Linked DNA regions of Homo sapiens: region 1 is linked to region 2. Evidence: promoter capture Hi-C in 16 types of primary human blood cells and fetal thymus (Javierre and others, 2016). All regions are on one chromosome and are shown on one strand. The core of a region is centred on a gene start or on the middle of the fragment in contact, and the rest is flanking DNA. Distances in the headings are between cores, read along the strand shown.

Region 1 (5,661 bases), core at 1,893-4,392, 630 kb after region 2:
CATAGTCTATTGAATTTGCGCTTTATCAAAAGTCTGGAGTAGGAAGGGTGTGTTACCTTCTTTCAACAGCAGAATACTGAGGTTGTAAAATAAAGGTTTGAGAAAGGGCTTAGTAATTAAAACATAGTTAACTACTCATAATAATACTTAATATAGCTATTACTTTAATAGAAAAAAAATGTAAGCAACAATTGACTCTCTCTCACTCATTCTCATCTACATCTGGCAAAGTGCAGCCATGACTGAAGACTCTACTCTCACCTGGTGGCAGCTACCTCAAAGACAGTTAAGTGTCCAGGAGGAAATCAACATGACTTGGGGTTGCTCTGTCAATATTACCTAAAAAGTGATAGTAAACATAACAATCATGAAGGGGCTTGGGAGTGGGTGATGCTGAGAAGGCGTTGGTTCTGTTTAATGTAGAGATTTGCCCTTGGCCTTGAAAGGGCCTGCTAAATGCTTGGCTTCAAGCGCACATTCACAGCTTCTGCAGAAACCCAAAAAGCTGAGCCTACAGATACCAACGCATACGGTCTCAGATAGACTCAAAATAGTTCATCATCCAACTCTTTCATTTGATTTGGAACTGGAAGAAGAATTGCGAAGAAAGCACAGTGAAAAGTACTGGACAGTTATCCTCTCTCTATTTAAAAAAAAAAAAACTCTAAAGCTTGGTGAGAATGTTGTGTGCTTGAGTTCAGGTCAGTGCTTATATTCACTGACGCTTGATGTATTTCTGACTTCAAATGTTTTATCAAGACAATCCACCTTGTAGCAATCTCCAAAGAAGACCGTGTGGCTCTATTAAGTCCACAATTTGCTTTTTAAAAGTGACTAAATACGTTTTTTCACAACAACGACAAGTCATCTCCCTCTTGGAGCCAACAGAGTTTGTCACCCAGCTTCCCCTTGCTTTTCAAAGCCAGCCATCAAAAAGCAAAGGAAATGTCATGACTTTGGAGCGGTCAGAAAGCTCTTAAGTCGCAGTGCAGGCTATTTCTCCTTTTGTGGCACAGAAAAGAGTGGACGGACACAATGAATAAATAATCCCATTGTACTTACAAATGTGTAACAATCCTCCAAAATGAAGTGAGGAACAAAGGTAGGAGATAGCAAAGCGGCCTGGGCCTTAACAGAACAGCTTGCAATTCCAGGGCCTAAACTGCTTTTGCAAACATAAACACACACACAGCAACCATGAGAAAATAAAACTTAAAAATGGCATCCAATTCAGAATGCCAAGAGGCTCAGCCTAAATGGCCTTCTGCGTAATTCACTTTGGACACTTTCAGCCTCTGTAGGTGAGGGCACCACGTCTGCAAGAAGGTTAATACCTTAAATAGTTCAAAATAACTGACTTTGAAATAATCAGCAGGGTCACCAGTTTTTGCTAAAAACACCTCTTCATCATTTTTACTTCACCACAGCCTTTCCTTTCCCTTTTAAAGAAGTCTTGTTGTTTAATGTTCCAGAACTTGTCCACGGCCTTCTTTTTCCATCACTAGTACCTGCAGTCACTTCTTCCCCACCTTGAAATACAGAATCTAGGAGCAAACAGCAGAGCTGTGACCACCAGAAGCCCAGCAAGGACGCTCCGACACAGATTCTAGTTATATGTCATTCTTGTACATTCGTAAAAATAGGAATATAAGTGAAATAAGTTGGTATGGTATTTCTAAAACATCTTCATATTCTAAGTCCAGCTCTTCTGAATTGCTTTTCAACTGAGGCATTAATGATCATGGTTTTCTACCCAATATACCATCACGAACATTGATGAACAGACATTTCCTGGGAGTGCTCCACTATTGCCTCTGGGATTTTCTTCCAAGCCTCAGACACCATTCTACAAGTTTAATGTTGAAGCTTTCTTAAAATTGCCATGCAATAAAACTACTTTGTGACTGAGACTCAACTGAAGGAATTGTAAGATCCCATTGACTAGAAGACACATCCTGAATCCATGCATAATTAAAGCTCTGATAGAAATAATAATTATGCCTGTAATGCTACCCTGGGTAAAAAGAGCAGGGATGCAGAGCAGGGACAAGGGACACATGTCCATTTTGATGAAAGCAGGGTCAGAAACCAACTGAGTAGAGAGAACAATTGTGACCCAATCATTTTCCAACATGGCACCTTTTGTTTGTTGCCCCTAGGGATTTATCTATCCCAAGGCAAAGCACCATGGTCAGGAGAGAAATGTGTGTCTGTTTTTTGGGTTTTGTTTTGTTTTTTTGTTTTTGTTTTGTTTTGTGGTTTTTGTTTTTTTGATGCAGGGGGTGGATGGAGTGTTGCTCTGGTCACCCAAGGCTGGAGTGCAATGGCATGATCTCAGCTCACTGCAACCTCTGCCTCCTGGGTTCAAGTGATTCTCCTGCCTCAGCCTCCCAAGTAGCTGGGATTACAGATGCCCACCACCACCCAGGCTATTTTTTGTATTTTTAGTAGAGACGGGGTTTCACCATGTTGGCCAGGCTGGCCTCAAACTCCTGACCTCAGATGATCCGCCCACCTCAACCTCCCAAAGTGCTGGGATTACAGGCATGAGCCACCACGCCCAGTCTATGCCTCTGTTTTCTAATGGGAGAGTATGAAGGCAGATGGCAAAGAAGAATCTGCAGACCTCAGGCATGTCCCCAGGTGGATAAATATTAGGAAAGAAGACATGTGGAATCTGGGGATCTAAACCATCTGTGTGCCCTCACGCCTCCTGGGAAGTCTGTGGGTTCACCAGTGGGGATGCATTCACCAGTCTGAAGACCATAACACCAGAATGGCTTGATGTCTAAAATGCACTGAAATAAAACTTTAGAGTTCTGGTTTAGAAGGCATGGACTGCCTCACTGCTCCTACATGCTGAGGGCTCCCTCATGTATGCTGCAGTGTCTTAGGAGAGGCTTCAATTCCCAGTCACCATTATCCACCAAGCTGGAATGATACCAGACTTTTCCTCCATTCCATGAGCCAAGAAACCACAAAGGAGACAAGGGAGGAACCCCTCCTAGCACTTTTAGCAAGACAAATACTGATTTTCCCCCATACAGAGTCAACATAAAAGCTCCCTTGCTTCCATCACAGTTTATGTTCCAAAGACCTGTCACATAAACATCTAGCAGGGAGCGAGCATGTCTAGGTGCTTATGAAAATGCATGATGTTTTAACAACGTTTTTTTGTGCTTTAATCCCCCTTTAAAATTAAGGTTCCTAAGTCCTGAGGCTGCTGCGATAGGATCTCAGCCATCTGCCCCTGCCTGTGACTATGGCATCCTCTGATTAAACAAAGGGAGCCGGGCTGAAGTCACAAGGGTTTTATTTCACAGGGGACCCATGCATTCTCTAAGGGCCTCATTTAGGAATACAAACAGTTTTTAAAATGATATTTTTTGAACTAAGTGAATACATTGTCTTCCTCATCTCTTCTGGATTAGAGAACTGGGAAAAAGGTCCCCCCAGGACTTCTGGAGCTTTTCTATACTCATAATTTCAGATACAACTTCTCCCCTAGCAGCTCCCATCCACTATCAAAATGGTATTTCTGTTTGCACAATCGTCTGTCCAGTTTCTTGTCATCTTTCTGATACATTCTATATATTCAGCTATACTGAATACTGTATTCCATGAACACATCTGATCTAACTACTTTAGCAGACTCAAATTTTCACAAGCCACAAAATCACATTTACCAAAAGAAATGGAGCTTAATTTTCTGTAACTCTACTCAATTTCTACCTTGAATTCTCATTTCCATTTGACAGCAGAAAACACTTTCAGGTAAATTCAATCACACTAGTGATTACTCAGACATTTTAAGTTTAACTCAGTCAAATTTTGTGTGTCTTTTGTCCTGCACTCCACCCCTGCTCCATACTTGCGTTTTCAGCAAGGGGAACAGCTAAGTTCCAAAAACAGCACCCCAGTCCAGGACATGAGAGCAGGCACTAAGGGAGCCTCTGAGCCATAGCCACCCTCAGCTCTCTGGTAGTATCTGCTGACCTAAGCTCCTCACCCTTTATCAGCCATTTGTGCATGTCTCCTGGGGATGTGGGGGCTTTCTGATGCTCTCCATCAACATTCTGCAGCTTGTGACAATCTACTTCTCCCATGCTTTTGTGGCCCTGGGGAATATTAGCAAGACTGCTACTTCTTACATTCCAGAGGGTAAGTAGGTTACAAGTCATTACTACTCTCAGAAACCCAAATTTAAAGGAGTTTCTAGGTATCCATCCTGGTACCCAGCCCAAGGTAGGGCATGAGGAAGAAACCTCACTCCATTTCTAATCCTCTTGCCCCTTTCCCAAATCAACCTCCTGCCCTCTGGATCTGTTACTTATGCCACCACTTGTGGTATGGCCCTCATGGCAATTTTGAAAATTTGTGAGGGTATTTCCCCCAAAACATTTTATTTCAAAAGCTTTCAAATTTATGGAAGAGTTGCAAGAATAGATCCAACTATAATTACCCAAATAGTAAAGAAGTTTAGCATTAATACTATTGTCTATTATATGATTTATTATTCAAGTGTCCCCAGTTATCCCAGTAATATTCCTTACAGCTGGTTTATAGTTCCATCCAGGATTCAATTAAGGATCATATATTGAATTTAGTTCTCAAGTCTCTTCAATCTCTATTACTCTAAAATAGTTCTGGCACTTAGTGAGCAGGAGCCAAGAATAAAAGACATCTCACAATGCTTGGGATGGTCCCACCAATAAAGAATTGTTCTGCATCCCGCATGACTTGAGTACTTTTCCCAGACAGTCATATAGGTTTAAAAATCACTTATAATTATTTGCACTCAGGGCCTAATTCCATTTTACATATAAACACACAGAAATTTTTGCACACTTTAAACATAAAATATACACTGAATTTTCTAGGACAGCAACAATAATATAAATCAGGAAAAGGTTGAACCCTCTTTTTTAGAGACCTTCTCAGGAGTTATTCATTTCAGAAAAAGTATGTACCAATGGCAATACCATTTATGATATTTAAATCACCACATAACACCTCTAGATCAGTCTGTGTTCAAGGCCGTGATATTCACTGTGGCTCAATGTTCACGTTCAAGCATAGAACTACATTACTATATTCTCTACTGTAGCGGTTGGTGTCTAAGCACTTAAATGTTGAAACATATGTTTTAAGTAGCTTTTATTTTGTTTTTCCTTTATATCTGTTAGGGTGTTATATTGATCGTTAAATTACATAGTAGATCAGATTTACCTATTGGTTTTATCTGAGGATAATAAAGGGGACTTTGCAAAGTACCCATTATAAAAAGGGGTTTCAAACAAATTGTCAAAAATGTATAAGTTACTCAGGGAAGTATGAACATGGTAATTAAGGAATTATTATTAATTATCTCTAGTGTAATAATCATATTGAGGTTATGTTTTCTAAACGAGTACTTTATTTTAAAAGATTACATCCAGAAGTATTTTCAGATAAAATGCTATGATTTGCCCTGAAATCATCAGGGTGGTAGAGTGGGTCAGGTAGAGATAAAACAAAAGGTAGCACGTATCAGTAATTGTTGAAGCTGGATGATGGCTACATCGGGTTCATTTTACTATTCAGTCAACTGGTGTGGATTTTTGAAATTTTTGGTAATAGAAAGGTTGAACTAAAAGAAAAAGGGAGTCTGCTGGGTTTGAT
Region 2 (4,997 bases), core at 996-3,495:
AGCCTCTAAAGGCAAAAAGCAATCTCCAGGGCGCATTCCGGACGGATCCGAAGCTCTAGGCCCTTCTACACCCAACCCGCAGACCACCAAGCTGGGCCAACGGGGGGCAGCCACCAGCCATCACTGCTTAAAGTCGCTCTATGCACTTTCAGCCTCCCCGCACCCGACTTTCCAGTCCCTCCAACCTGGCTCCTGACTTCAGATTTTAGGCACATCAAAGGTTACTTTTTTACAATGACAGATTGTCTTTATTCAAAACGTCTTTGTTCAACAAATGAACAGAGCAACGAGGTAAAATCCTTCTAGGTACATTTCCAAGACATCGTCAAAACATTTATGACCATTTAGGTTGTTTTTGTTCTTTTAATTTTTTGTTCACCTTCTACTTCCTGACTTCATAACCCGACATTCTGTCTAAAAGTAAACTTAGATCTCTAGAAGCACTGCTTTACACAAAGTAAATAACCATGTAGGTCCTTTTTGTTTTCCCTTTAAAGAAGCAAACACTATCATAGCATGGTTTTAAATAGAAATGTTTCCCTTTCTGTAATTTAAAACTTTGAAGCCTTTCCCCCCCATACATGAAGAGCAAATGGCTCCTAGTTGTGTCTGATGGCAAAACACAGAGACACAGCTAACTCTTTTCTTCAGGGGACAAAAGGAAAAAATATATGCATATTGTAGATATAATATCAGAATCTGGGAGTTCAGAGTCCAAAGCCTATCCGAGGAGAGTGAAGGGGATATAAATAAAGCAAAACTGCCTACTTTTTTGTCCAAAGGGGGTACAGTCGGAGATTTGTTTTGGGAGAGTCGGGATAGGGGCAGCTGTGTAGCTGACATAACGTTTGCAAGTTTCCGGTACCTGTCTGCGCCTTGGGTCCGGGAGGACGCCCCACCCTTCCCCCTGGAAGAGAGAGGAAAAGTCTGGGTGGTGTAAGGGACAGCGGCAGGGCTGACCCCGGAGGCGTCTGCAGGCCGGGGCTAGGCTCAGAGGACAGGGTGCAGACCCGGCTTTCAGACCACGCCTCAGGTCCGGGCCGGGCTGGGGGTTACATGGCCGTAGCGTGGGCTGACGAATAAGGGTCTATGCCAGTCTTGGTCATGCCTGGGAAGAGGATGTAGGCGACGGGGGGCTGCAGGGTGGAGGCAGACCAGGCGGTACAGTTACAGGGCACCACGTAGCCAGGGTTGGTGGGGGACGGGTGCGTGTGCGTGTGCTGGCTGGGGCAGCTGAGGCTGCCGAAGGCGCCGTTCTGGTAGCCCAGGGTGGACGCGTAGGGCAGAGCGCCGGTAGCCAAGGTGTGGGGCACTTCGCCCATCTTCTGGATGGCGCTCGAGCTAAACTGCGCGGGGTCCAGCAGGGAGTAGGGCGCCGAGGCCGGCGGCAAGAAGGCCCGGGCTTTCTCGGGCGCGCTCAGGAGGCCGTCGGAGGCCCCCACGGGCAGGCCAGCCGCCTTGAGCGGGTCCGTGTCGCCCAGGTAGGGCAAGGGGAAGACATACCTGTCCTTCTTGAGCAGGTTCTTGGGCTTGCGCCGAGGTCGGTACTTGTAGTCAGGGTGCTCCTTCATGTGCTGGGCGCGTAGCCGCTTGGCTTCATCGATGTATGGCCGCTTCTCTGCCTCGGACAGAAGCTTCCATTCGGCACCTAGGCGTTTGCTGATCTCCGAGTTGTGCATCTTGGGGTTTTCCTGGGCCATCTTGCGCCGCTGGCCCCGGGACCATACCATGAAGGCGTTCATGGGCCGCTTGATGTGGTCTGAAGGTTTGGACATGGTCCCGGCGGCTAGGTGGGTGGGGGTAGGGAGTGCAAGGGTTCTGCAGACGAGCCTGGGCGCGGCTGGCCGTCTGTCTGTCCGTCCTGAGCCGGGGTTCTGCGCTCCCCTCGCCTTGGCGCCGCTGAGGGGAAGCCAGAGAGAAGCGCTGACCCCACAAAGTTCAGCTGATCATGCCAGTCCCAGCGCCCAGGCAGCCCCGGGGGAGCGAGTGGGGGCAGAAAGGGCGGGGGAGGAGAGGGCGATCGGCCGGGGGGCTTCAGGCACCAGGGGCTGGGACCCAAGTATCGGAGTCTCCGGGATTAAGTGGCCAGGTAATTTTTTAGCCAGGGCAAGAAGCTCCTCCTTCTCCCCCTCTCCACCTTTGCCTTCTCTAGTTCCCTTCTCTCCTCTTGCGTTTCCAGTCGTGGCTCCCCCTTCCCGTGGCTTTCCCGGAGCTGCCGCGCCTAGCGCTGCACCTGGCTGAGAATGCGGGGAGGCTGGTGAACGAGAGCCAAAAGCGGCGAAGTTCAAAGGCGAGGTGGGCCGGGACTGCACGCACTCTGACATAAGCGCGGGGCGGCGACTCCCCAACCTGGGCGCCAATCAGCAGCAGAGAAGCCGAGGGGGCGCACCTGCCAACACGCCGGTGCAAGAAACAGAGAGCGCGACTGGTGGGGGCGGGGAGAGGTGTGAGGGACAGAGGCAGAGAGAGGGCTAGAGCAGAGAGGCTAGCTCTAGACTGGGGACTTCGGTTCCACATTGTCTCGGGCACTGTCAACAAATAAAACTCTTCCGCGTCTCCTGTTTCCTTTCCCGGTTGTGAAAGAGAATTAGGGCTTGAAATACAAAGGCCGGGGAAGGGACAGCAAAGGGAGCGAGGCGAGAGCTTGTGTTGATAAATAGGACAGCTTTGCCGCGAAATGCAAGGACAGCACTTTGCCCTCTTGTCAAATATCCTTGGAAGAGAAAAATAACATATAGCAGGCTCAGGGTAAAAGCGAAATAAACTTTTCGCGCCCCACCCTCGGCGGTGCTTTGGCAGTGTTCTCCCGGGAAGCCCCTGCAACTAGGCATCCACCCCTGCCCCAGGATGCGGCGCCCGGGCGTAGCGCTGGGACCCTGGGTGGCTGAGCAATGTTGTCTGACCTGCTCCTGGAAGGCCTCGCGTCAGGCAATGCAGAGATTTCGAACCCTAGTTGGTGAGCCCTTAAAAGCACTACGACCTGTTCTTCACTTTTGGGGCAGGGATGGGGCTGAGATTTCTATTGCAGTTCCCATTTATGTTATTATTATTTAGTGTCTTTAAACCTCCAACTTTTACTCCACAAATGTTCATACCGTAAGAAGAGCCTAGAGGCTGGGTATGGGGCTCTTCCCGGTGCCCCTTCTGCAGCGGCCCTACAGCGGAGTCTCACGGTGTATCGCAACCAGGGTCGGTTTGTCCCTGGGCGCCTCTTCCCACCCAGGGAGGCTGCGAGACTCGTTTCTTGCGTCAAATGAGCATTCTTCGGGTAAAGAGGACGAAATAACCCGCAGAGCCAACCTGCGCGCCTGTTTCCTTTGAATAATTGCCTGCCCGATGTGAAATGCCCTTGGGGGAAATATTTATTAAATGGAAACCATTGTCCCAGGCCCGGCGGGACCTGCGTGTGTTCCAGGCTTATTGGCTTTTGCACCATTCTCTCTTGGGAGGACCGGCCAGAAACGCGCAAGGCTCCGTTGGCTCCGAGGGGCTAGGAGTGGGGGAGGGTGACAGGGAATGAGGAGGCCGGAAGGGAGGATCTTTCTCTAGCATGTAGTGTATCAAGTTTGAGGAGAAGACTTTGCTTCCCCTTCCTAAAATTAGAAAGACGCGTGGAACTTCTCACCCTTGGCGCACTTTTCAGAGAGGTGGGCAATATCCCCATTTTACAGATTAGGAAACTAAGGTTGAGAAAAACTAGGTGATTTGTCAAAAGTGACTCTGGGAGTGATGCTTGATGTATAGGATTTGAAAATCCCTATTTTCACCCCCATTCCACTAGACGTCACGCCTAGGGATTTCATGGCTCTGCAGCCCAATGTGGAACACCTGATGAGACTATTGGGGCAATCGACACCTGCCATGCAGATAAACCACGCTGGAAAGACTGATCCTGCGCTTGATTTGCTTAGCCATGGGCTCCACCTCCGAGGGCTGGCAAACAGGTGCACAGCCTTTACATTCCTTCCCAACCCCAGCTCTGGCCTTTCTCCAGAGCCTCCATCCAGCCCTGTAACCCTGCTTTCTCTGCAGGAAGTTTCATTTAGCTTAGGGTCTCAGGAAGCAAACGCACTTTTCAGCCCAGTCTGGAAAGGGTTTCCGAGCGTCGCTGGCAACCCCTACTCAGGTCTGACCAGCGGTGCGCTATATTCAGAGCCAGCCAGGGATAGGAGATTCAGGAATCACCCAATTCTAATTCTACTGGGCGATCCCGACGGCTTTGGGAAGGAATGAGAGAAATACTGATATCTGCAGCGAGATCCAGCGTTCGGAGGGGACCCGCCAATCTCTCACTCTAGAACCCCCCAGGGGACACCAAACGCACACCCAAAGTTCTGGGTTAATGCAAACCAAGCTCTTGGAAATTACTCAGCAAGGGGATCTGGCACAAGGTCCTACGTCCTTTCTCTCCTCTCAGTTTCCAGGACAATCCTTTCCAGTTGCCCGGAGGCAGTTCGGGCAGGCGAGCGCCTTCCTGCAATTCCTCATATTTCCTTCTCCTCAAACGCCCGAGCTCCTCTCCAAGCTTCTTGTGTTCAGCCTTGGGTCGCAGCCAATGCGCAGTCCAATTCGCAATGAGGAGCGGAGTGATACGAAGGGCGTTCGATGGTGGGCAGGGCGCCAGCTGACCCCCCGACGTTTCGGAGACCCCGATTGCCTGGTCCAGCTGCACTGACCTAGGAAGGGGCCAGCATCAGCGCTGCGCGTCTTGGCCTTGAGACAGGAACTCCGCGCGGGGAGGGAACGCAGGGATGAGGGCTGCACCTTCCAGGCCGTGCATCAGCTTGTCTCCTAGGCGAACTGCAAAGCCACGCACACCCCTTACGCAGTACCGGTGACCACCGGTTTATTCAACACTCTTTAGAGCTGTGGCGGGAGCAGGAGTTCCCGTGATCCTGGGGTCTGGCCTGGTGCTGTCTCCAGCAGGTGCCTCTACTGCGCTGCGCTGTCCCTTCACGCTGTGCCTCCCTGACGGGTCTAAACCACCGGGTAGCACG

The links. The method cuts DNA at HindIII sites, captures the fragments that hold promoters and counts their contacts. A CHiCAGO score of 5 or more calls a contact.
Region 1: a fragment that was not itself captured here is called in contact with the fragment with the promoter of SOX14 in region 2 in 1 of 17 cell types (fetal thymus); the score reaches 6.7 in fetal thymus.

Annotation. Positions count from the first base shown.
Region 1 is chr3:137,132,219-137,137,879 of GRCh38, reverse strand. No RefSeq gene overlaps it. Among named protein-coding and RNA genes, the nearest start is that of IL20RB-AS1, 150 kb to the right of the region's middle. The HindIII fragment of the contact is 2,548 bases long and covers 1,869-4,416 here.
Region 2 is chr3:137,761,563-137,766,559 of GRCh38, reverse strand. It overlaps SOX14 (SRY-box transcription factor 14), which reads right to left and starts at 2,245. Exons shown (of 1, transcript NM_004189.4): 1 at 226-2,245. The coding sequence starts at 1,775. The coding sequence ends at 1,053. RefSeq lists enhancers at 1-359, 1,410-2,215, 2,216-3,021, a cis regulatory region at 2,355-2,361 and promoters at 1,819-2,496, 1,819-3,150. The HindIII fragment of the contact is 2,891 bases long and covers 1,637-4,527 here.